6 separate regions of the Homo sapiens genome follow, and all the other regions are linked to region 3. Evidence: promoter capture Hi-C in human tissues and cell types (Jung and others, 2019). All regions are on one chromosome and are shown on one strand. Each heading gives the region's core, a stretch centred on a gene start or on the middle of the fragment in contact. The rest is flanking DNA. Distances are from core to core; before and after follow the strand shown. Region 1 overlaps PLAAT3 (phospholipase A and acyltransferase 3). Region 2 has its middle 38 kb from the start of PLAAT5. Region 3 holds the start of CHRM1 (cholinergic receptor muscarinic 1). Region 4 holds the start of LOC124902684 (a long non-coding RNA gene). Region 5 holds the start of ASRGL1 (asparaginase and isoaspartyl peptidase 1). Region 6 overlaps RTN3 (reticulon 3).

Region 1 (4,413 bases), core at 863-3,362, 670 kb after region 3:
TAGAGACCCAGGAGGGGAGAAGAGAAAGACGAGGCCCAAAGTCACAGACCAGGCCAGACCAGGCCGGGCCCTACAGGCCACAGTGTAGACTTTGATGCTTTGTTTTGGTTTGGTTTTGGTTTGTTTTTTTGAGACGGGGTTTCACTCTGTCACCCAGGCTGGAGTGCAGTGGTGCAATCTTGGTTCACTGCAGCCTCCGCCTCCTGCTCGTGCCTCAGCCTCCGCCTCCTGCTCGTGCCTCAGCCTCCAAGTAGATAGGACTACAGTGGCGCGTCACCATGCCCGACTAATTTTTGTATTTTTAATAGAGACGGGGTTTCGCCATGTTGGCCAGGCTGGTCTCAAACTCCTGATCTCAGGTGATTCACCCACCTCAGCCTCCCAAAATACTGGGATTACAGGCATGAGCCACCGCACCTGGCCCTTGATTTACGCTTTCAAACAATCACACCACCTGCCCATGAATGAGGAACTGGCCGTGAGTGGCAAGAGGCAGAGAGACCAGCCAGAAGTGACACTGCCACCAGGCGAGGGAGGGTGGTTGCTCATACCAGGGCGCTGCAGTGGGGATGGTAAGAAGTGGTCAGAGCTGGGGTCTGTTTCAGAGATAAAGCCAACAGGATTCCCTGATAGATTAGACATGGGTTGGAAGGAACGGAGAATGACTCCTAGGCTTTAGGCCTGAGCAGCTGAATGGTGTCTTCCACTGGAGCCTCCCATTTGGGGCAGATCAAGTTCAAGATGCCAGGTAGACACCCAAGTGGAGTTACCAAGTAGTCAAGAGGTTATGCAAGTCTGAAGCTGAAGGGGGATGTAAATTGAGGGTTTGGGCTTAGGAGATATTGACAAATAGAAGGTATTGGAAGCTAAGGAATCCAATGAGGTCATCTGAGCTCGATTTAGGGAAATGAGAGAGGAGGAGGAGCCCACACAAGAGACCAAAAAAGAAGGGCCCAGAGGGAGAGGAAGAAAGTCAGGTGCCAGGTGGAGAGCAGGAAGGTCACTCACATCAAATGCTGCAGAGAAGCCAAGTCAGCTGTGATGGGACTTGGCTTTAAGCTTTGGCAAGATGTGGAAGCTTTTCCCTACCCTTGAGAACTGCTCTGTCAGGGGGGCAAAAAAAGAGAGTCTGAGAGCAAAACTCCATCTCAAAAAAAAGAAAAAAAGAAAAAGAAAAAAGAAAGTGTGGGTATAGGGGATGGAAGGCAGAATGGGAAGCGAGGAACCGGAGGTGGCCAGGCAGACAAAGCTGTAATGAGATCTGCTCTGTAGGGCGTTAAGCAGAGAAGGATGTGAGGCCGGGCGTTTGATCAACGGGATATATTACAGCTGTCTCTATGTCAATACGAATGATCCAGTTGAAAGGGAGAAGATGACAATACAGAAGGAGGTGGGGAATTTGAGGAGCAAAGTGCTTATGAAAGGAAGAGGAGGGGGTGGGGGTACATGGGTAAGGGGCTCAGGGTGGGGAAGATGACATCTACTCTGGTTACTACTGATAGGGTGAGGCCACTAGTTAGAATTAAAACGATATGCAAAAGACATGTTCAAGGGCCGTGCGCGGTGGCTCACGCCTGTAATCTCAGCACTTTGGGAGGCCGAGGCAGGCAGATCACTTGAGGTCAGGGGTTTGAGACCAGCCTGGCCAACATGGTGAAATCCCATCTCTACTAAAAATACAAAAATTAGCTGGGCATGGTGGTGCGTGCCTGTAATCCCAGCTACTCCAGAGGCTGAGGCAGGAGACTCGCTTAAAAGCAGGAGGTGGAGGTTGCAGTGAGCCAAGATCATGCCCCTGCACTCCAGCCTGGGCCACAGAGCAAGACTCCGTCTCGGAAAAAAAAAAAAAAAAAAAAGAGTGTCTATAACAGCTCTATTCATAGCAGTCAAAACCTGCAATGAGTCTGATGTCAGAAAAATGGATGCTAAATTGTAGCATATTCATATAACAGAAAATACACAGCAGTGAAAAAGAATTCCTGCTACTCACAGCAGCATGGATGACTCACATGGGCATGATGTTGGCTAAAAGAAGCCAGACACAAAAGAGCACGGGCCGTGTGATACCTCTTCCATGAAGTTCTAGAACAGGCAAAACTCATCTATGGCAGGAAAAGCTAGAATGATGGTTGCCTGGGCGAGGCGTGGGGAGGCATATTGTAGAAGCATGAGAGAGCCTTTCAGGGTAAGTGGCACAGTGGGAATGTTCTAGATGTGGATCTGGGGCACTGTTACATGGATGGTTTTTTTTAATTCACTGACTGTATACTTTACTATGCTTGTACATTTTACAATACTTATGTTATACCCCAGTTTAAGTTAAAGGCTTAAGAGAAGGGTGAGGAATTCTCACAAGAGTTCTCCAAGTTAAGTATTCATATCCTCAGTTTGCAAAAAAGGAAATCAAGGCTGAAGAATGGAAACTGGATTCATAACCAAGTCTCTCTGCCCAAACACCTGCACTCTTCCCAGGAGCTTTACGCTTAAGAGTTGAGTGTGTTGCGGCCGGGCACAGTGGCTCACGCCTGTAATCCCAGCACTGTGGGAGGCCAAGGAAGGCGGATCACGAGGTCAGGAGATCGAGACCATCCTGGCTAACACAGTGAAACCCCGTCTCTACTAAAAATACAAAAAATTAGCCAGGGGTGGTGCCAGGTGCCTGTAGTCCCAGCTACTCAGGAGCCTGAGGCAGGAGAACGGCGTGAACCCGGAGGCAGAGCTTGCAGTGAGCCGAGATCGCGCCACTACACTCCAGCCTGGGCGACAGAGCGAGACTCTGTCAAAAAAAAAAAAAAAAAAAAAAAAAAAGAGTTGAGTGTGTTGCATACAAAGTCACGGCATAAAAAACACATCAAAACAGAGCTTCGTCCTCAGATGCCACCTTGGTCCCTCTACAGCAGCGGTCCCCAACCTTTTTAGCACCAGGGACTGGTTTTGTGGAAGACAATTTTTCCATGGACTCGGCAGTGGGGAGGGATGGTTTCGGGATGATTCAAGCACATGACATTTATTGTGTACTTTATTTCTATTATTATTACATTGTAATATATAATGAAATAATCATACAACTGACGATAATGCAGAATCAGTAGGAGCCCTGAGCTTGTTTTCCTGCAACTAGATGGTCCCTTCTGGGGTGACGGGTGACAGTGACAGATCATCAGGCATTAGATTCTCATAAGGAGTGATATGGTTTGGCTCTGTATCCCCACCCAAATCTCATGTCAAACTGTAATCCCCATGTGTCAGGGGAGGGACTATATGGGAGGTGACTGAATCATGAGCGAGATTTCCCTCATGCTGTTCTCATGATAATGAGTGAGTTCTCACAAGATCTGATGGTTTAGAAGTGTGGCACTCCGGACATGGTGGCTCATGTCTGTAATCCCAGCACTTTGGGAGGCTGAGGCAGGTGGATCTCCCGAGGTCCAGAGTTCAAGACCAGCCTGACCAATATGATGAAAATCCATCTCTACTAAAAATAGAAAAATTAGTCGGGCGTGGTGGCAGGTGCCTGTAATCCCAGCTACTCGGGAGGCTGAAATAGGAGAATCACTTGAACCTGGGAGGTGGAGTTTCCAGTGAGCCGAGATTGTGCCATGGCACTCTACCCTGGGCAAGAAAAGCGAAACTCCATCTAAAAAAAAAAAAAGTGTGGCACTCCCCCGCCTCCTGCCACCATATAAGACCTGCCTTGCTTCCCCTTCACCTTCTGCCATGATGGTAAGTTTCCTGAGGCGTCCCCAGCCATGCAGAACTGTGAGTCAATTAAACCTCTTTCTGAAGGGCCGGGCGCGGTGGCTCACGCCTGCAATCCCAGCATTTTGGGAGGCTGAGGCAGGTGGATCACGAGGTCAGGAGATCGAGACCATCCTGGCTAACACGGTGAAACCCCGTCTCTACTAAAAATACAAAAAATTAGCCAGGTGTGGTGGCAGGCACCTGAGTAGTCCCAGCTACTCAGGAGGCTGAGGCAGGAGAATGGCGTAAACCCAGGAGGCGGAGCTTGCAGTAAGCCGAGATTGCGCCACTGCACTCCAGCCTGAGTGACAGAGCAAGACTCTGTCTCAAAAAAAACAAAAAACAAAACTCTTTTCTTTATAAATTACCCAGTCTCGGGTAGTTCTTTATAGCAGTGTGAAAACAGACTAATACAAGGAGTGTGCAACCTAGATCCCTTGCGTGTGCAGTTCACAGTAGGGTTCATGCTCCTATGAGAATCTAATGCCGCTGCTGATCTGACAGGAGGTGGAGCTCAGGCGGTAATACAAGCGATGGGGAGCAGCTGCAAATACAGATGAAGTTTCGCTCACTTGCCCACCACTCACCTCCTGCTCTGGAGCCCAGTTCCTACCCAGTACCAGTCCATGGCCTGGAGGTTGGGGACCCCTGCTCTAAAGAACCCCCTGAGGT
Region 2 (3,902 bases), core at 618-3,117, 530 kb after region 3:
TCTGTAGGTTGCCTGTTCACTCTGATGATAGTTTCCTTTGCTGTGCAGAAGCTCTTAGTTTAATTAGATCCCATTTGTCAATTTTAGAATTTTAGTTTTTGTTGCAATTGCTTTTTGTGTTGTAGTCATTAAGTCTTTGTCCATGCTTATGTCCTGCATGGTATTGCCTAGGTTTTCTTCTAGGGTTTTTATGGTTTTAGGTTTTATGTTTAAGTCTTTAATCCATCTTGAGTTAATTTTTGTATAAGGTGTAAGGAAGGGATCCAGTTTCAGTTTTTTGCATATGGTTAGCCAGCTTTCCCAGCACCAATTATTAAATAAGAAATCCTTTCCCCATTGCTTGTTTTTGTCAGGTTTGCTGAAGATCAGATATTTGTAGATGTGTGATGTTATTTCTGAGGCCTCTGTTCTGTTCCATTGGTCTATATATCTGTTTTGATACCAGTACCATGCTATTTTGGTTACTGTAGCCTTGTATTATAGCTTGAAGTCAGGTAGTGTGATGCCTTCAGCTTTGTTCTTTTTGCTTAGGATTGTCTTGGCTATGCAGCCTCTTTTTTGGTTCCATATAAAATTTAAAGTATTTCTTTCTAATTCTGTGAAGAAAGTCAATGGCAGCATGATGGGAATTGCATTGAATCTATAAATTACTTTGGGCAATATGGCTATTTTCATGATATTGATTCTTCCTATCCATGAGCAGGGAATGTTTTTCCATTTGTTTGTGTCCTCTCTTATTGAGCAGTGGTTTGTAGTTCTCCTTGAAGAGGTCCTTCACATCCCTTATAAGTTGTATTCCTAGGTATTTTATTTTCTTTGTAGCAATTGTGAATGGGAGTTCACTCATGATTTGCCTCTCTGTTCATCTATTATTGGTGTATAGGAATGCTTGTGATTTTTGTACATTGATTTTATATCCTGAGACTTTGCTGAAGTTGTTTATCAGCTTAAGAAGTTTTGGGACTGAGACAATGGGGTTTTCTAAATATACAATCATGTCATCTGCAAACAGAGACAATTTGACTTCCTCTCTTCCTGTTTAAATACCCTTTATTTCTTTCTCTTTCCTCATTTCCCTGGCCAGAAGTCCCAATACTATGTTGAATAGGAGTGGTGAGAAGGGGTGTGTTTGCCTTGTGCCAGTTTTCAAAGGGAATGCTTCCAGCTTTTGCCCATTCAGTATGATATTGGCTGTGGGTTTGTCATAAATAGCTCTTATTATTTTGAGATATGTTCCATCAATACCTAGTTTATTGAGAGTTTTTAGCATGAAGGGGTGTTGAATTTTATCGAAGGCCTTTTCTGCATCTATTGAGATAATCATGTGGTGTTTGTCATTGGTTCTGTTTATGTGATGGATTACATTTATTGATTTGTGTATTTGAACCAGCCTTGTATCCCAGGGATGAAGCCAACTTGATCATGGTGAATAAGCTTTTTGATGTGCTGCTGGATTTGATTTGCCAGTATTTTATTGAGGATTTTCGCATCAAAGTTCATCAGGGATATTGGCCTGAAATGTTCTTTTTTTGTTGTGTCTCTGCCAGGTTTTGGAATCAGGATGATGCTGGCCTCATAAAATGAGTTAGGGAGGAATCACTTTTTTTCTATTGTTTAGAATAGTTTCAGAAGGAACGGTACCAGCTCCTCTTTGTACCTCTGTTAGAATTCAACTGTGAATCCATCTGGTCCTGGGCTTTTTTTGGTTGATAGGCTATTAATTACTGCCTCAATTTCAGAACTTGTTATCAATCTATTCAGGGATTCAACTTCTTCCTGGTTTCGTCTTTGGAGGGTGTATATGTCCAGGAATTTATCCATTTTTTCTAGATTTTCTAGTTGATTTGCATAGAGGTGTTTCTAGTATTCTCTGATGGTAGTTTGTATTTCTGTGGGACCAGTGGTGATATCCTGTATGTCAGGCCTCTGAGACTAAGCTAAGCCATCATATCCCCTGTGACCTACATGTATACATCCAGATGGCCTGAAGTAACTGAAGAATCACAAAAGAAGTGATATTTAAATGGCCTGTTCCTGCCTTAACTGATGACATTCAACTGCAAAAGAAGTGCAAATGGCCAGTCCTTGCCTTAACTGATGACATTAGCTTCTGAAATTCCTTCTGGCTCATCCTGGCTCAAAAAGCTCCCTGACTGAGCACCTTGTGACCCCCACTCCTGTCTGCCAGAGAACCCCCCTTTGACTTTAATTTTCCTTTACCTACCCAAATCTTATAAAACAGCCCCACCCTTATCTCCCTTCGCTGACTCTCTTTTCAGACTCAGCCTGCCTGCACCCAGGTGAAATAAACAGCCTCATTGTTCACACAAAGCCTGTTTGGTGGTCTCTTCACACAGAAGCGAGTGAAATTTTGGTGCCATGACTTGGACCAGGGGACCTCCCTTGTGAGATCAATCCCCTGTCCTTCTGCTCTTTGATCCGTGAGAAAGATCCACCTATGACCTCAGGTCCTCCGACTGACCAGCCCAAGGAACATCACACCAATTTTAAATCCAGTAAGCGACCTCTTTCTACTCTCTTCTCCAACCTCTCTCACTATCCCTCAACCTCTTTCTCCTTTCAATCTTGGCACCACACTTCAATCTCTCCCTTCTCTTAATTTCAGTTCCTTTCCTTTTCTTGTAGAAACAGGAGATGCATTTTATCCGTGGACCCAAAACTCCAGCACCGGTCACAGACTCAGGAAGACAGTCTTCCCTTGGTGTTTAATCATACGCGGATGCCTGCCTGATTATTCACCCACATTTCAGAGGTGTCTGACCCCTGACCCCTTCTCTCCATTTCTCTACCCCTTCTCCACTTTTATGGGGGGCAAGAACACCCCCAACCCCTTCTCTCCATGTCTCTACCCCTTCTCCACTTTTCTGGGGGACAATAACCCCCTGACCACTTCTCTCCATGTTTCTTGGGGAGCAAGCACCCCCCACCCCTTCTCTCTGTGTCTCTACTCTCTCTTTTCTCTGGGCTTGCCTCCTTCACTATGGGTAGGCTTCCACCCTCCATTCCTCCTTCTCCCTTAGCCTGTGTTCTTAAGAACTTAAAACTGTCAGGCCTCTGAGCCCAAGCTAAGCCATCATATCACCTGTGACCTGCAAGTACATATCCAGATGTCTGGTTCCTGCCTTAACTGATGACATTCCACCACAAAAGAAGTTAAAATGGCTTGTTCCTGCCTTAACTGATGACATTACCTTGTGAAATTCCTTCTCCTGGCTCATCCTGGCTCAAAAGCTCCCCCACTGAGCACCTTGTGACCCCCACCCCTGCCAGCCGGAGAACAACCCCCCTACTTTGACTGCAATTTTCCTTTACCTACCCAAATCTTATAAAATGGCCCCACCCCATCTCCCTTTGCTGACTCTCTTTTCAGACTCAGCCCACATGCACTCAGGTGAAATAAACAGCCTTGTTGCTCACACAAAGCCTGTTTGGTGGTCTCTTCACATGGATGCAAGTGAAAAAAAACCTCTTCAACTCACACATGACCTAAAACCTAAATGCCTTATTTTCTTCTGCAACACCCCTTGACCCCAATACAAACTCGACAGTGGTTCCAAATAGCCAGAAAACGGCACTTTCAATTTTTCCATCCTACAAAATCTACATAATTCTTGTCATAAAATGGGCAAATGGTCTGAGGTTCCTGATGTCCAGGCATTCTTTTACACATCGGTCCCTCCATAGTCTCTGCTCCCAATGCAACTCATCCCAAATCTTGCTTCTTTCCCTCCCACCTGTCCCCTCAGTCCCAACCCAAAGCATCACTGAGTGTTTCCAATCTTCCTTTTCTACAGACACATCTGACCTCTCCCCAGGCTGCCCCTCACCAGGCCGAGCTAGGTCCCAATTCTTCCTCAGCCTCTGCTCCCCTACCCTATAAT
Region 3 (4,254 bases), core at 1,286-3,785:
AGGGAAATGGGGAGAGGGATTCCTGAACACCAGGCTTTTCTGAACGTACCGCTGGCCAAAGAGTACAGAAGGGGAGGGAGGGAATGAGGGGATGCTGGGGAAGATATTTAGGAGGGAGGAGCGGAGCCATCTTGTGATTCTGGGCCTGGAAGCTGGTAGAGTCCTGGTTAGGAAGAGGGGATAACATTGGGGAGTGGGAGGTATGTGGAGGGGGCTGTGGGGTTGGGCACCTGAGGCCTCACATATGCAATGAGGAGGGCGCTCCTTCTGGCCAGGTCTACTCACTGATCCCTTCTGCTAGGGCCTGACCCCAGAAGCCAGCCCATACGAGGCAGCTCTCCCCTCGGGGTTAACTTTTCTTTGACAGCAGCTCTTGACCCATTAAGGTGCACAAAACTTCCACCCCTGATGTCTGGCTTTGAGAATGAGGGAGTAAACAGAATTTATCACATTTTTAAGGCTCAACAGTTGCCATTGGGAGGGCCAACTAGTCTTGTGGAGGGCAGCAGCCATCAGTTAAATGCTACATGAAACACACTGCTTAGCTGGAAGAGAAGCATCAGCCCTAGAATCACTGCCAAATTTGCTCACCCATGATGGATCTTAAGCAGTTGCCTGACTTTGGCCAGACCATGACAGAGCCTGGGCATGAGCAGCTGGACCCTAGACCTCACTCTGCCAGTGTGGCATCAGAGGTTCTGGGTCCCTCATCCTCCTCTCCGCAAGCCCCCTGCTCCTGGCTCCTTGCACTCTCCTCCTCATTTCCTTTCTTCTCTCTCCCTCCCTCCTCCATCCTTGTAGGCATCACCATGGCACCACAGCAGAGCAGAAACCCAGCGCAATTCACCCACCTCTCCCCGCCTGCTGGGAGCCCAAGCTTCTGCGTCTCAGAGCTTACTGCGCCCCCTGCTCTCCCACCCCATCTTCCTGCTCATGGAGGCGGCAGCGCAGTGTTGTGCTGAGGATGCGGAGAAGGGGTCCGAGCCCCAGCTGGATCCCTACATATCCCTTCTCCGACCATGAGCATGTCCCTTTCCCTTTCTCAGCCTCAGTCCCTCCATACAATAGAAAGCCTCCTTTCTAGGTCTGACATGACCTCTGGTTAGCCCCTTCTTGACACTTTGGACTCCCCATTACACTTCAGAATCCAGTTCTCAGAACTCCAACCGCCAGCTGTCAGCTGCGAGCCAAGACCCACATCTTCTGCAGCCCATTTCACTATCTCCTTCCCTTTCATATCTCAGCCGCGATAGCGACTGCAGCTTGCCTGGTGGCTGAGGTCAGAGGGCAGAGAACTCTCATCTGACAGCCCACTGAACAGCTGATTACCCTGAGAAAGGAGACTGTCTGGCTACTGGAGACTGCCTGACTCCTTCCAGCCAGTTGGGCAGGGGTCTTGGGTCAGTCTGGGTGGAGCTGCAGGTGTGTTTTGTGCAAAGATGTGAACCCCTCTCCATTGGCTCTGATAACCTCTAAGCTGCACATGTCTGGATGACCTAATGAGAGCTGACGACCCCCTCCCCAGCTGGCCTGCCCAGGAGCTGACAACTCTACAAGCATCAGAGTTCCTGGCCCCTAGCCCATCCCCATGTTGTGCAGTCTGCGGGCACTGGGGTGAGTACCTGGCGTGGGTGCCCATTGGTATCCATGCATTGCCTGGATATAGGACTGAGACCCACCCTGCGGGAGCCCAAGATACTAGAAACATAAGGAGGGTCCTCTGGGCCCCTGCGCACGTCAGGGCCACCTTCCCTGGCTAGTGTGGCCACCCACATGCCCATTTGTCCCCAAAGAGCCCTGGGGCTCTTTGCCTGGTCTCCTGCTGGCTTCTGGCCTGACACCCACCTTGGCTTCTAGCTTCTCTATCTGGCCAGCAGCCTGATTCAGTCCATCTTGGGGGAGCTGAGGTGGACGGGGGTGGTGGGTTTCAGGGTGCCCTGAGGGAGGACAGGAGGTTCTGGGACTGGCACCCCCATCAAGATGGGGGTCAACCTCCCACAGGATGCTGGTGGCAAGGGCTGCTTCCTGGCCCTTTGCCCTTCCCACTCTGCCCCTAGGGTGTTGGGGGTTCTGCTTGCTACCAGGCAGCCTAATCCCTTCTGGGCCTCAGGTCCAGTTTCCTGAGGGGGATCTCCATCTCCTCTGCCAGCAGAAGCCCAGAAAAACATCAGCTATATCCACTCAAAGCCAGGAGGCCGAGTGTTTGGAGCAGTCAGTGTTCAATGCTACAGAGCCCCCTTGCCCTCTAGACCCCTCCCTGGCCTCCTCCTATCTCTGTGAGTCCATCCCTATTTCCATCTCATCCTGATCCCTGCCCTCCCCCGCTCCCCAGGACCCTCCTACCCTCTACCTTAGTGCAGCCCCTCCCAAGCCCTCCCAAATGTACTCACCACGGGGCTGAAGAGGGGTCTGTAGGGTCCTCAGCCCCACTGCCTCCCTGGGGGCCTGCGGCGTCTCCAGGGACCCAAACACCTGGCTCCCAGGGGGAGCTGCGCCCTGTGCTGGCAGCGGGAGAGGCACAGCCAGTGATTGGCATGTCCCACCCCCTGGCACGCCAGCCTTAGCGGGGAGGGAGAAAGGGAAAGAGAGGGAGGGAGGAAAGGGAGAAAAGGAAGGGAGGGGAGCTGGAGGGAAGCCTCAGGCAGCGTCTGGGGTTGGACTAGGTTCTGGAGTGTGCCCCCCTCCTTCACCAGGGCACCCAATTTGAGCCCCAAGAGGGAGGAGAAAGGACATGAGGAAGGCGAGCCCAGGAAGGCTAAAAGTCCCGGACGGGAGAGAAGGCGGATACAGGGAGACAAACACCCACACCCACTGCACAGACCCGGCGGCACACACACCCTCACAAAGGCACACTGTTTCCTTGGGCTCCTCCCCCCACCCAACCTTAGAGCCCCCAGCCCCTGTGCACCATGCCCCAACACACATGCCCTGGTATTCACATGCCTGCTTCCCTCGCACACACGCCCTCCCCCCTGCACATGCCCACGCACCCACCCACCCAACTACACACCCTGCTCTTCCTCCCTGCTGTGAGAGAGCTAGATTCCTTCTGTTTGGAAATGACACATTGGGCCTCACGTGAGAGGCTCCAACTTGGAACAGACCCAGAGGGCTGGCGCACCCGCCCGGGGGCTGAGTGAACGTGCCCGCATGCTGGGCTGTGTGCGCTAGCATTGGGCTATGCATAGCCTGTTGTGAGGGTATATGGGTGTCTGCTTTTCGGGGATGAGTAGAGGGCCAGGTGCCTGCCCCATGTGCGGCTGAGTGCCTTGCATATGTGTGTCCCTGTGTACTCATGTCACCATGCAGCCTGTGTAAGTGCAGGTGTGACCCTATCAGTCTGGAGGCAGGACGCGTGTGCACACGTGTGTCTGTATCTGATGTGTGGCTGAGTGTTGCCCAACTGTGGAACTTGCTAATTCTGACAAGTGAGGCAGCCTCTACCTGCCTGCTCCACCCCAAGCTTCCACTTGGAAGACAGACAGGCAGACAGACAGCTCTCCTCCCAGCTTGTCAAGCTCTGTCTCCCCTGACTCCCACTCAGGGCTCACAGGTGTGTACCTGGGAGGAGATGAGCCCTCCTCCCAATCTCCCTCAGCCCTACTGGGTGAGGCCAGCATCCCTCCCTGCCAGGCTGGTCTGGACTTCTGTGTTGAGCTTCCTCAGAGATAGAACCCCTGGGGGGCCGTTTGCCCTAGAGATGTGGGTCCTGCACCGCCTCTGTTTGGCCCTAGAGACCTCCCCGGGAGCTGACTGGGGAGGAGAGTTGGAGGCTGCAGGGACTGCCTTCTGGGGCTGCTGTGTTCTTTGCCCACTGGGCTGTGTCGAAGTCTTGGGGTGAGAGGTGGGAAGGAATGGGAGCATCAATTATCCCCATTTTGTAGGTGAGAAATCTGAAGAGCAGAGGTATGATTAGCATGTGGTGGGCAGGTGTTTGGGCTCAGGTCACTTGGCTCTAAGCCCAGGGCTCTGGAGTCTGGGGCAGGGGTTTCCCCTACTCATTTCCCCACCAAGCGCCGCCCCCCGCCCCCACAACCCCGCCAATGCTGGTGCCTGAGGGTAACCTGGGGCTTTCTCACCCAGGAGCCCAGTTGGCCAATGGAGCCAAGTGGAGCTGAAACTGGAGTTCCTGGGGTTTGGTCAGCAGCTACTGGTGGGCACACGTGGCAGGTACATGTGGGGGCATCTGTGCTTCTCAAAGCCAGCTGGGGTTCCAGCAGGCACCCAGTCCTCCTCCCTGCTGAAGTCAAGCAG
Region 4 (4,545 bases), core at 1,932-4,431, 580 kb after region 3:
GGGATTACAGGCGTGAGCCACCGTGCCTGGCCAGATAGTCTCCTATATTTTCTTGAAAATGTTTTTAAATTTTGCCTTTTTCGCTAATCCATTTGGAATTGATTTTTGTATATGTGGGAGGCAGGGATCCAACTTCATTTTTCCTCATATGAATAACTGTCTCAGCATCACTTGTTGATAGTTTCCACTTCTTCATAGATGAACAAGGCCACCTCTGTCCTGCATAATGCTTTGAAAGAGCAGGAATACTGTTGACTCTATTCAGTATCACTGATAAATGTATCTGTCTTTGTGCTACTATCATGTGGTTTTAATTGCTACATCTTTATGATAAATCTTGATGTACAAATATCTCAAGATCCCTCCTTACTTATTCTTCCTCAGGAACTTCTCAACCATGCTTGAGCTTTTGCCTTTCATTATAAATTGCAAAACTAGTTTGTCAAGTTGCTCAAAATACCCTATTGGCATTTTGCTTGGAATTACAGTAAATCAATAAATCAGCTTGGCAATTTTGGCATCTTTACAAAATTGTTTCTTTCAGTTAATAATGTATTCTATCTCTCTATTGTTAGGTTTTAAAACCTTTCAATGAATTCTTCTAATATTCTTCATAAATATCTAATCTTAGTATATTGCATTTTCCCTCTACTTATTTGGAAGTTTACACTGTATTCTTTTACTTATTGCCCTTGAAATTTTAACATGTATGCTTAAGTCTAAAATTAATATCCTAAACAATCCTCTGAAACAATGTAAGGACCTTGGAACACTTTCACTCTAATCTTTCCTACCCATGCTATTTTAGTCTGCCCCTTTTTAATCCCCAATTCACATTATTATTACCATTATTATATTAGGCAGACATTCTTTTAGATTTGCCTATATGTTTGCCACCACCTTTGCTCATCATTCCTTCTTGCATCACAAACCTTCTGTCTGAGGTCACCTTTCTTCCCAAAATACAGATGGGCCTTGAAGGTCCTATAGTGAAGTTCTATTGGTGATTAACTGCTGGTTCTCACGGTGCTGAGATGAGGACCTCAGTGCTTCCTGTGACACCATGTGGAGGAGCTGAGATGGAGAAGCAGAAGGACTTCTAATTCTGGAAAGGCCTGTTAAATTAAGCTTAGCCTAAAGCTGCCTCCTTACGTATTTTAAGTTCAGCCTAAAGGTTTCTCTGTACATAGTGAAATGTAACTTAACTGGATGTGTAAACAGACTATAACCTACTCTTGTGCCAGCCACCGAGTTTTAGCCAACTGTTCAAATCATGTTCAAATAAGGCAAATGCCAAGCTGTAACCCGTCCAGCTGTTGCTGTACCTCACTTGTTTCTGTATATCACTTTCCTTTTTCTGACCATAAATCATCTTCGACAATGCAGTATCACTGGAGTGTCTCTGAATCTCCTGTGATTCGACAGGTTGCCTGATTCATAAATTATTTGCTCATTTAAACTATGTTCAATTTAATTTGTCTTTCTTTTGACACGCCCAAAGGGAGACCCAGGTGCCTCTCTGGCGGTGGGGGGTGAGAGTCCTCAGTGGCAGAGAGTGTTGGAATGAAAGAACTTTGCCTGCACACTGTCTCTATGGAGACCACATACACAAAGGCCCCCAGCACAAGAGAACTACGCAGAGCTGGAGGGAGTCCATGGACTGTCCCACGGCACACTAGAATCTATCACCTCTGTCCCTTCTCCATGCTCCCAACTGCAAAGGGAGGAAGAGGTGGTGTCTTTGAGGTAGACATAGTAGCCCCTGTCATCCTTCTATTCCAGGGTACTGCAGTGGGAGGGAGGGTGCCCAAAGGAGCAAACCGTGCTCCCCACATCCAGGCCCTTAGCCATGCATCTCACCTGCCATTAGTAGGATATGGAATCAAAAGCTTAACATTAATTATGGCTTTTGTTTTGAATTTCTACTTTTTACTATGGACATTTTCACATACATATGAAAGTAAGAAAGAAAAGAAGTATTCTGTTTGAGAAATGCAAGCCTCCTTTAAATTATCAGACCCAAAGAGACACTGGAATGAGAAGCAGTCGTGTCCCACTGCCCCCTTAAGCTTAGTAATGATTTCGAAGCTGCTTGCTAGGCAGGCTCCAGACTGAGAACCCACATAGCCTGCCACCCTCTGGATTATACCCATGGCATCTTTTTTTGTGGGGGGATTGGGGGGGATATTCATCCCTTCAAGGATTTATCCATTGTGTTACAAACAATCCAATTATATTCTTTTATTTTTAAATGTATAATTAAATTATTGACTATAGTCTCCCTGTTGTGATATCAATACTAGGTCTTATTCATTCTATTTTTTTGTACCCATTAACAATTCCCCCTCCCTCCCACCTCCCCACTACCCTTCCCAGCATCTGGTAAACATCCTTCTACTCTGTATCTCCATGAGTTTAATTGTTTTGATTTTTTAAATCCCACCAATAAACGAGAACATGTGATGTTTGTCTCTCTGTGCCCGGCTTATTTCACTTAGCATAATGACCTCCAGTTCCATCCATGTTGTTGCCAATGAGAGAATCTCATTCTTTCTCGTGGCTGAATATTACTCCCTTGTGTATATGTACCACAGTTTCTTTATCCATTCATCTGCTGAGACACTTTGCTTCCGAATCTTGGCTATTGTGAACAGTGCTGCAGTAAACATGGGCATGCAGATATCTCTCTGATATACTGACTTCCTTTCTTTTGGGCATATACCTAGCAGTGGGATTGCTGGATCATATGACGGCTCTATTTTTAGTTTTTAGGAACCGCCAAACTATTCTCTATAGTGGTTGTACTAATTTACATCCCCACCAACATTGCACAGCAGTTCCCTTTTGTCCACATCCTCCAGCATTTGTTATTGCCTGTCTTTTGGATACAAGCCATTTAATTGATATATCATTGTAATTTTGATGTGCATTTATCCGATGATCAGTGATGTTGAGCACTTTTTCATTTGCCTGTTTGCCATTTGTATGCCTTCTTTTGAGAAAATGTCTATTCAGATCATTTGCCTTTTTTAAAATCAAATTATTAGATTTTTTTCCTATAGAGTTATTTGAGCTTGTTATATATTCTGGTTATTCATCCCTTATCAGATAGGTAGTTTGTATATGTTTTCTCCCATTCTGTGGGTTGGCTTGACACTTTGTTGATTGTTTCCTTTGCTGTTCAGAAGATTTTAACTTGGTGTGATCCCATTTGTCCATTTTTGCTTTGGTTTTCTATGCTTGTGAGGTATTCCTCAAGAAACTTTTGCCAAGACCAACGTGAAAGTTACCCCAATGTTTTCTTGAAGTAGTTTCATGGTTTGAGGTCTTAGATTGAAGTTGTTAATCCACTTGATTTGATTTTTATATATGGCAAGAGATAGGAATCAAGTTTCATTCTTCTGCATGTGGATATCCAATTCTCACAACACCATTTATTGAAGAGATTGTCTTTTCATCCAATATATGTGCTTGGCACCTTTGTCAAAAATGAGTTCACTGTGGGTGTATGGATTTGTTTCTGAGTTCTGTATTCTGTTCCATTGGTCTATCTGTCTTTTTATGGCAGTAGCATGCTGTTTTGATTACTGTAACTCTGTAGTATAATTGGTAGTCAAATAATGTGATTCCTCCAGTTTTGTTCCTTTTACTCAGGATAGCTTTGGCTACTCTTGTGATTCCACACAAATTTTAGGATTTTTTTTTCAATTTCTGTGAAGAATTACATTGGTATTTTGATAGAGATTGCACTGAATCTGTAGATTGCTTTGGGTAGTATGGACATTTTAACAATATTGATTCTTCCAATCCATGAACATGAAATATCTTTCCATTTTTTGTGTGTCCTCTTCAACTTCTTTCATCATTGTTTCACAGTTTCATTGTAGAGATATTTCACTTCTTTGGTTAATTCCTAGGTCTTGGATTTTATTTGTGGATATTGTAAATGGGATTACTTTTTAAACTTCTTTTTCAGATTGTTCACTGTTGACACATAGAAATACTACTGATCTTTGCATGTTGATTTTGTATCCTGCAACATTACTGAGTTGGTTTATCAGTTCTAATAGTTTTTCGGTGGACTCTTTAGGTTTTTCCAAATATAAGATCATATAATCTACAAACAAGGATAATTTTACTTCTTCCATTCCAGTCTGGATGCCCTTTATTTCCTTCTCTTGTCTAATTGTTCTAACGAGAACTTCCAGTTCTATGTTGAATAACAGTGGTGACAGTAGGCATCCTTGTCATGTCCCAAATCTTAGAGGAGAGGCTTTCAGATTTTCCCCACTCAGTATGATACTAGCCATGCCAGCTGGTATCTCCCTAGGTCACATGCCACCCTAATTGATTGGCTGTATACCCAACCTGGCACTAGAAGTTGCCTAGGAATTGCAGTTCTTGTGTCCTAGACTGCCTTTCAAGTTTACCTAGGACCCCAGAGCACTTCACCCTGTGGTGGCTAGGCTTGCCAAGAAACTCAAGTTCTGACCACTGGCTAGGGCTGGTTCAAATGCTCCCTCCATGCCTGAGCGCTGGCTGAGC
Region 5 (4,354 bases), core at 855-3,354, 580 kb before region 3:
GTTCTGGCCAATAAAAGTCCACTTGGAGGACTTCTAGGAAAGCTAGAGAGCTTTCCTGAATTAAAGGAACAAAGGGGAGCTGGCAAAAGCCTTCTTCCCTTTGCCCTTCCCCATTCCTTCTGCCCCAATAGTGATCAAGGTGCCTAGGAGCACCATAAATGTGAAAGCCACATGCTGAAGGGAAGAGAAGGAGATGGGACATCTGTGTCACCTTGGAGCTGCTGCACCAGCCTGGGCAGCAACCACTAGATGTCTTGTTGTTGTTGTTGTTGTTGTTGTTGTTATTGTTGTTTTCAAATCAACAGTTATCTGGTTAAACCACTGTGGTCACGTTTCGTCAGGGACAGTTGAATACAATCCTTAATCCATAAAATGATTGTTGATGGAACATCGTCTACAGAGGAGTTAGCCAGATTCCTTCTCCTATCCCACAGAGCCGGACAAAAAGATGCTTCCTCTTTCCTCCTCAAAGACCAGAAGTTTATTTTCTAGAGAATTTATCTAAGAGACTTTGGATTGGGATGGGGAATACGAAGCCCATCAGAGAAGTAGATAAACGCATGAGGCTGAGATGGGAGGATCAAATGGAAACCAACATTCTACCTGCTTGGGCCACCAGCCACCTTCCCCAGCCTCAGCCAGATCACTGAATTCCAGATCAATCAGGAAAAACAGTAGAGATGGGGTTTGAGTTAGGGCTAGGCATAGGGTAGGGTTCAGGTTCCTATAAATAGCTGAAACCAAATGATGGTGAGCTGTATTATGATGACACAACTAGGCTCACGACCAGTTGAGACGTGCTAAAATAACCCTCTTCCAAGAGGTGAGTGTGGGAGACAGAATAACGGCCCTCAAAGGTGTCACATCCGAATCTCCACCTGTGAACACTCCTCACATGGCAAAAGGGACTTTGCAGATGAGAATAGAAATTGTAAGAAAGGGAGATTATCCTGGGTTATCTGGGTGGGCCCAATGTCATCCCAAGGGACTTCCTTTAAGAAGGAGGCAGGAGAGTCAGAGTCAGAAAAGAAAATCGTGATGATGGTGACAGAGAGAGAAGTGACGTAGCAGCAGAAACAGGCCAGAGGGAGAGAGAGTTAAAGATGCTAGGCTGTTGGCTTTGGCAATGGAGGATGAGGCCATGAGCCAAGGATACAGGCAGCTTGTAGAAGCAAGAAAAGACAGATTCTCTTCTGGAGCTTCCCGAAGGAACTCAACCCTGCAGACCCAGTTTGAATTTCTGACCACCAGAACTGTAAGATAATGTGTGTTGTTTGAAGCCAATAAATTTGTGGTAATCTCTAACAATAGGTCACTAGAAAGGGAATGACTGATCCTTAGTGGGGTGCCAGGGAGAAGGCTTTGCAGGAGGGGTTCATTTAAACTGGGCCTTAAGGCAGGAAACGAAGGTAAAACAGGAGTAAAGGGAATTCCCAAGAGTGGTAAAATATGTTATCAGTTGTGGGTAAACAAGAAGGGAAAGGACTCTCCTATCCACAGGAGATCAATCACAGTTTGCCTGGATCTGTCCCTGTTTATGCCCATTGTCCCAGTATAATTTTTTTTTCTTTTGATTCGGAGTTTCACTCTTGTTGCCCAGGCTGGAGTGCAATGGCGCGATTTCCACTCACCGCAACCTCCGCCTCCCAGGTTCAAACGATTCTCGTGCCTTAGCCTCCAGAGTAGCTGGGATTACAGGCATGCGCCACCACGCCCAGCTAATTTTGTGTTTTTAGTAGGGACAGGGTTTCTCCGTGTTGGTCAGGCTGGTCTCGAACTCCCGACCTCAGGTGATCCGTCCGCCTCGGCCTCTCAAAGTGCTGGGATTACAAGGCATGAGCCACTGCGCACAGCCTAGCGTTGCTTTTCAATCTGCAATTACAAAATCGTGGCATGCCACTTCACGCTTCTCGCCACCAACCCAACCACCCAGCCCCTAGCCTGGTCAGGAGCAGGAGGTTCCCCGCGTGCCACCAGGAAGCTCGGGCCGGCCAAGAGCGTAGACTCTTGAGAGGAGTGAGACAGGTGCGCGCCAGCCGGCCTTCGGGGCTTTATGGGAACTGGGCCGTGCGGCGGTCCCGCCCTCGTGCGCAGGCGCAGAACCGTTGTGACCAGAGCGGTTGCGGGCTGAGCGGTTTCGAGCCGGCGTCGGGGAGCGGCGGTACCGGGCGGCTGCGGGGCTGGCTCGACCCAGCTTGAGGTCTCGGCGTCCGCGTCCTGCGGTGCCCTGGGTAAGTCGGCGGCCCTCCCGGAGCAGCCGCCCGAGACGCGGGAGGGCGAATGAAATAAACGAAAATAGACATTTTCCCGAAGGCGAAATAGACATCCTCCTTCGGCGCCGGGGCTTGGAGGCGGGCGGCGGTGGGCGCGGGTTAACGTCCCCGGGGAAACTGAGACCCCCAGCAGGTCCGGGCCGGGGGCGGAGAGGAACGCGGGAGGGCGCCGGGCCCCTGGGCTTTTCGTACCAAGCTCGACCGAGCCGCCCCTACCCACCCCCAGCTGCGAACCCAGCCGTTCAGAACAGAGACTGGGCATTGTCCCCACAGGGTCTCCCGAGGACCTTGTACCCGCGCGGCTTCCTTGGGCTGGCTTTGGACGACGCTTTCGCCTTCCTGCTGCCTAGGATCCGCCGACATGAATCCCATCGTAGTGGTCCACGGCGGCGGAGCCGGTCCCATCTCCAAGGATCGGAAGGAGCGAGTGCACCAGGGCATGGTCAGAGCCGCCACCGTGGGCTACGGCATCCTCCGGGAGGGCGGGAGCGCCGTGGATGCCGTAGAGGGAGCTGTCGTCGCCCTGGAAGACGATCCCGAGTTCAACGCAGGTAAATGTGCCTTTCAGCTAGTAAATAATGTGAGTCAGGTCAAGCTCCTTCTTCAGAATAAATAGAACCTACATAGTGTTAGGGAATCTAATGAGCTTTGGGGTGAAACTAAGTATGTAAAAAAGAAACAATATTTAATTTTTCTACCTGTGCTGAAAAGAGTCAAACGCTAAAATATTTGTAGAGATTTATACTGAGGCAAATATGAGTGACCAATGGCCTCTGATACAGCTCTTGGGAAATCCTGAGAATGTGTGCTTCTGGAGAGACATAAGATGTCAATCAGTACATACAAGACATACATTGGTTCCATCTGGAGAGGTGAGACTACTGGGGGAGGGGGAGTGGTTTCCAGGTCATAGTTAAGATTCAAAGATTTTCTGATGAACAATTGATTTAAAGTTTTGTCCAAACACCTGGAATCCACAGAAGGGAATGTCTGGATTATATAAGGACTTGTGGCTGCAGATAGAATTAATAGAAGGCGGTTTAGCACGGTGGCTCACGCCTGTAATCCCAGCACTTTGGGAGGCCAAGGCGGGTGGATCACCTGAGGTCAGGAGTTCGAGACCAGCCTGGCTAACAGGTGAAAAGCCACCTCTACTAAAAATACAAAAGAAAAAAAAAAAAAGCCAGGCGTGGTGCTAGGAGCCTGTAACCCCAGCTACTCGGGAGGCCGAGGCAGGAGAATAGCTTGAACCTGAGAGGCAGAGGTTGCAGTGAGCCGAGATCACTCCAGCCTGGGCGACAGAGCGAGACTATCTCAAAAAAAAAAAAAAAAACTGAAAAAAGAAGGGAATGTCTGCATTAAGATAAGAGGTTGAGGAGACCAAGATTTCCCTTAGGCAGAGGAAGTCTCCAGGTAGCAGTCTATTGAGAGAATAAATTGTAAATGTTTCTTATCAGAGTTGATTCTCTCCTGAATCAGGAAAAAGGCCTAGAAAAGGAAGGGGATTCTCTTCAGAATGTAGATTTTCCCCACAAGAGATAGCTTTAGCTTTGCAGGACTATTTCAAGATATGGCGAAGAAACGTAATTTGGGGTAAAATACTTCACTTTCAGGGCTTGCTATCTGTCATGTGATGTCATACTAGAGTCCCGCTGGAATTTGGTATCTTATTGCTACAAAGTCTGCTTTGTCAGTCTTAAGATCTGTTTTAATGTTAGTGCTGGTCAGCTGGGCCTGAATTCCAAAAGGGAGGAGGGAATAATGAGGCATGTCCTACCTCCCCCGACAAGGTTCCAAAGTTTTCAGGTTAACTTTGGAGTGCAGAGTGTATTCCTTTGTGTTTCGCTTCTTTCACTCAGTCCACCCTTTTTTGGAATACTAATCATTATAGCTAATATGAGTATCTACCATGTATCAGGCAGTGGTCTAAGAAATTTGCTTGATTTATTGAATCTGAACATTAAATGAGTTGATCATGTAACTCTCTTAAGTTGGTTAACTTGTGTTAAACTAACTCAAGTTAACTCATAATGAACATTAAATGATTCACTTATGAGTTAATCACTTAAACTCAGTTGAGT
Region 6 (4,011 bases), core at 126-2,625, 810 kb after region 3:
CAAAAATTCAAAAATTAACTGGTTTGGTGGCATGCATCTGTAGTCCCAGCTACTCAGGAGGCTGAGGCGGAGGATTGCTTGAGCCCAGGAGGTGGAGGCTGCAGTGAACCATGATCACACCACTGCACTCCAGCCTGGTGACAGAGTGAGACCCTGTCTCCCAAAAAGGCAGAATTAAGGAGATATATTGGCAATCTGTAATAATTGGAAAATTTAATACCTCTTTCTCAGCAATTAACTAGACACACCCAGGTATCTGAACAGTACAATCAATGAATTTGACTTAGATGGTGGTTATAGAACACTACTCCCTACAATAGCAGAATACACATTATTTTACAAGTGTATAAGGTATGCATTCATTGGTATCGATAATATACTACTAGGCCCACAAAACAACTCAGCAAATTTCAAAGGATTTTTTTTTTTATTTATTTATTGGAGACACAGTTTCACTCTGCCTCCCAGGCTGGAGTGCAGTGGTGTGATCTCAGCTCACTGCAACCTCTGCCTCCCGGGTTCAAATGATTATTGTGCCTCAACCTCCCGAGTAGCTGTGATCACAGGCGCGTACCACCACGCCCACTAATTTTTGTATTTTAAGTAGAGACAGGGTTTCACCATGTTTGCCAGGTTGGTCTCGAACTCCCAACCTCAAGTGATCTGCCCACCTTGGCCTCCCAAAGTACTGGGATTATAGATGTGAGCCACTGTGCCTGGCCAAATTTCAAAGGATTTAAATCATACAAAATATGTTCTAAGGCCATAATGAATTTAAGCTTTAAATTAATGAAGATATCTATGATGAAGACAACATCTAGGAAAATTCCCAAATATTTGGAAATTAAGACAGTTTTACCTAATCTATAGATAAAAGAAGAAATCACAAGAAAAATATTAAGTGATTTAAACTGAATCACTTAAACTGAACAATGAAAATAAATCAAACTTGTGGAATACAGTGCTGAGAGGGAAATTATATAGCTTTATTTATTTTTTATTTTTTATTTTTTTGAGATGAACTCTCGCTCTGTCACCAGGCTGGAGTGCAGTGGCACAATCCCGGCTCACTGCAACCTCTGCCTCCCGGGTTCAAACGATTCTCCTGCCTCAGCCTCCTGAGTAGCTGGGATTACAGGCGTGCGCCACTACACCCAGCTAATTTTTGTACTTTTAATAGAGATGGGGTTTCATCATGTTGGCCAGGATGGTCTCGATCTCTTGACCTTGTGATCCGTCCACGTTGGCCTCCCAAAGTGCTGGGATTACAGGCTTGAGCCACTGCGCCCAGCCATGTATATAGCTTTAAATGCTTATATTGGAAAAGACAAAAATCTAAAACAGTGATCTAAGGTTCGAACTTGAAAATCTAGAAAAAGAAGAGCAAAGTAAACCCAGTAAGTAGAAAGAAAAAAAAAGAGCTGAAATCAATGGAATAAAAAAACAAACAATAGAAAAAATTAACAAAGCCAAAATTTGGTTCCTGGAAAGTTCAACAAAATTATTTTTTATTTTTTTGGAAACAGGGTCTTGCTCAGTCACCCAGACTGAAGTGCAGTAGCATGATCATAGTTCATTGTAATCTCAAACTCCTGGGCTTCAGCGATCCTCCTGCCTCAGCCAAGTAGCTAGGACTACAGGCAGGCATCTAGGGACTACAGGCACGCACTATCATACTTTATTAATTTTTAAAAATTTTTTGTAGAAATGGGGTCTCATGTTGCTCGGGCTGGTCTCGAACTCCTGGCCTCAAGTGATCCTCCCACCTTGGCCTCCTAAAGCGCTGAGGTTATAGGTGTGAGCCACTTTTGGCCAAAATTATTTCTTGACTGGACAAGAAAAAAAAAAAAGCACAGATTACCAATATCAAGCATGAAAAAAGGGTTTTCCATTCAGATCCTACAGATATTAAAAGAACAGTAGATTATTATGAACAATTTTATGCCAACAGATTTATCAACTTAGAGAAATGGACAAAATCCTTGAAAAATGCTACTTAATGCTAACACAATTTATATTAAAGAAATTAAATTCAGTATCAAAACTCTTTCCACAAAGAAAATTCCAGGCCCAGAGTTTTCACTGGAGAATTCTTCGAAGCATATAAGGAAAAAGGAGAGGAGAATACTTCCCAATTTATAAACTAGTATATATGTCATATATAATACATATGTATAGAGTAATACCAAAACTGGACAAAGACATGGCAAATACAATTATAGACTAATATTATTCATGAACGTAAATGAAAAATCCTTCAGAAGATATTAGCAGATCATACCAGCAACATAATAAGATAATGAATGCATCAAGGCTAATTAGGGTTTGTTACAGGATATACAGGATACAAGGTTGTTTTAAGATTAAATAATCAGGGCTGGGCTCAGTGGCTCACGCCTATAATCCTAGCACTTTGGGAGGCCGAGGCAGGTGGATCACTTGAGGTCAAGAGTTCAAAACCAGCCTGGCCAACATGGTGAAACCCTATCTCTACTAAAAATACAAAAAAAAAAAGGCTGGGCACAGTGGCTCACGCCTGTAATCCCAGCACTTTGGGAGGACCGAGGCAGGCACATCATGAGGTCAGGAGGGAGGACCGAGGCAGGCACATCATGAGGTCAGGAGATCGAGACCATCCTGGCTTACACGGTGAAACCCCGTCTCTACTAAAAACACAAAAAATTACCCGGGCGTGGTGGCACGCGCCTGTAGTCCCAGCTACTTGGGAGGCTGAGGCAGGAGAATCGCTTGAACTCAGGAGGTGGAGGTTGCAGTAAGCCAAGATTGCACCACTGCACTCCAGCCTGGGCGACAGAGACTGTCTCAGAATAAAAAAAAAAAAGATTGGATAATCAATATAATTCACCACATTAACAATGAAGAAAAACTATGGCATAAGTTCAGTTCATAAAAAGTGTTTGAAAATGTTTGGCTGAGTGCAGTGGCTCATTCCTGTAATCTCAACACTCTGGGAGGCTGAGGTGGGAGACTTGCTTGAGCCTAGGAGTTCAAGACCAGCCTGGACAACAAAGTGAGACCCTGTCTCTACCAACAAAAAAAAAAGGAAAAGAAAAATTAGCTGGGCGTGGTGGCGGTGGTGGTGTGTGTCTGTAGTCCCAGCTACTCGGGAGGCTGAGGCAGGAGGATTGCTTGGGCCCAGGAAGTCGAGGCTGGAGTGAGCCATGATTGTACAACTGCACTCCAGCCTGGGTGACAGAACAAGACCTTGCCTCAAAAAGAAAAAAAAACACCACATACATACGTATGTATATATGTATATACACACAGACACACATATATATATACACACACACATTCAGTGAGATCCTGTTTCTAAAATTTTTAAATAAAAAAAGTTCGATATCCTTTTCTGATAGAATTTTCTACAAACAAGGAATAGAAGGTAATTCCCTCAGTCTAATAAACAGCATCTGTTGAAAACTACAGCTGATGTCATCCTTAATACTGAAATGCTGAACACTTTCTCCTGAAGATTGGGTACAATGTTCACTCTCACCATTTGTATACAACATACTGGAGGTCACTTTGGGAGGCCGAGGTGGGCAGTTCATTTGAGGTCAGAGTTTGAGATCTGCCTCACCAACATGGTGAAACCCCCATCTCTACTAAAAATACAAAAATTAGCCAGGTGTGGTGGTGCACACTTGTAATCCCAGTACTCAGGAGGCTGAGGCAGGAGAATCCCTTGAACTCAACAGGCAAAGGTTGCAGTGAGCCGAGATCACACCACTGCACTCCAGCATGGGTAACAAATCAAGACTGTCTCAAACAAAAATAGCCAGGCACAGTGGCTCATGCCTGTAATCCCAGTACTTTGGGAGGCCGAGGTGAGCGGATCACTTGAGGTCAGGAGTTTGAGACCAGCCTGGCCAACATGGTGAAACCTCTACTAAAAATAGAAAAATTAGCCAGGCATGGTGGCACACACCTGTAATCCCAGCTACTCAGGAGGCTGAGGCAGGAGAATTGCTTAAACCCAGGAGGCGGAGG

What was found. Contacts are between HindIII fragments. The study calls those that stand out against the background at their distance.
Region 1: a fragment that was not itself captured here is called in contact with the fragment with the promoter of CHRM1 in region 3 in 4 of the 25 tissues and cell types used here (bladder, dorsolateral prefrontal cortex, lymphoblastoid cells and 1 more).
Region 2: a fragment that was not itself captured here is called in contact with the fragment with the promoter of CHRM1 in region 3 in 2 of the 25 tissues and cell types used here (dorsolateral prefrontal cortex and mesenchymal stem cells).
Region 4: a fragment that was not itself captured here is called in contact with the fragment with the promoter of CHRM1 in region 3 in 1 of the 25 tissues and cell types used here (aorta).
Region 5: a contact is called between the fragment with the promoter of ASRGL1 here and the fragment with the promoter of CHRM1 in region 3, in 1 of the 25 tissues and cell types used here (spleen).
Region 6: a contact is called between a fragment that was not itself captured here and the fragment with the promoter of CHRM1 in region 3, in 1 of the 25 tissues and cell types used here (dorsolateral prefrontal cortex).

The regions. Positions count from the first base shown.
Region 1 is chr11:63,593,457-63,597,869 of GRCh38, forward strand. The region is part of intron 3 of PLAAT3 (phospholipase A and acyltransferase 3); the gene reads right to left. Among named protein-coding and RNA genes, the nearest start is that of PLAAT3, 19 kb to the right of the region's middle. The HindIII fragment of the contact is 6,558 bases long and covers 1-4,413 here.
Region 2 is chr11:63,450,723-63,454,624 of GRCh38, forward strand. No RefSeq gene overlaps it. Among named protein-coding and RNA genes, the nearest start is that of PLAAT5, 38 kb to the right of the region's middle. RefSeq lists enhancers at 1,726-2,287, 2,288-2,848. The HindIII fragment of the contact is 7,919 bases long and covers 1-3,902 here.
Region 3 is chr11:62,918,828-62,923,081 of GRCh38, forward strand. CHRM1 (cholinergic receptor muscarinic 1) reads right to left here and starts at 2,536. Exons shown (of 2, transcript NM_000738.3): 1 at 2,391-2,536. LOC105369333 (a long non-coding RNA gene) reads left to right here and starts at 1,333. Exons shown (of 5, transcript XR_002957251.2): 1 at 1,333-1,614. RefSeq lists an enhancer at 2,860-3,394. The HindIII fragment of the contact is 6,896 bases long and covers 1-4,254 here.
Region 4 is chr11:63,493,864-63,498,408 of GRCh38, forward strand. It overlaps LOC124902684 (a long non-coding RNA gene), which reads left to right and starts at 1,605. Exons shown (of 2, transcript XR_007062702.1): 1 at 1,605-1,746. The HindIII fragment of the contact is 7,313 bases long and covers 1-4,545 here.
Region 5 is chr11:62,335,344-62,339,697 of GRCh38, forward strand. ASRGL1 (asparaginase and isoaspartyl peptidase 1) reads left to right here and starts at 2,105. Exons shown (of 7, transcript NM_001083926.2): 1 at 2,105-2,231; 2 at 2,547-2,824. The coding sequence starts at 2,635. RefSeq lists an enhancer at 2,016-2,685. The HindIII fragment of the contact is 36,513 bases long and covers 1-4,354 here.
Region 6 is chr11:63,730,658-63,734,668 of GRCh38, forward strand. All of the region lies in intron 3 of RTN3 (reticulon 3), which reads left to right. Among named protein-coding and RNA genes, the nearest start is that of ZFTA, 36 kb to the right of the region's middle. The HindIII fragment of the contact is 5,544 bases long and covers 1-4,011 here.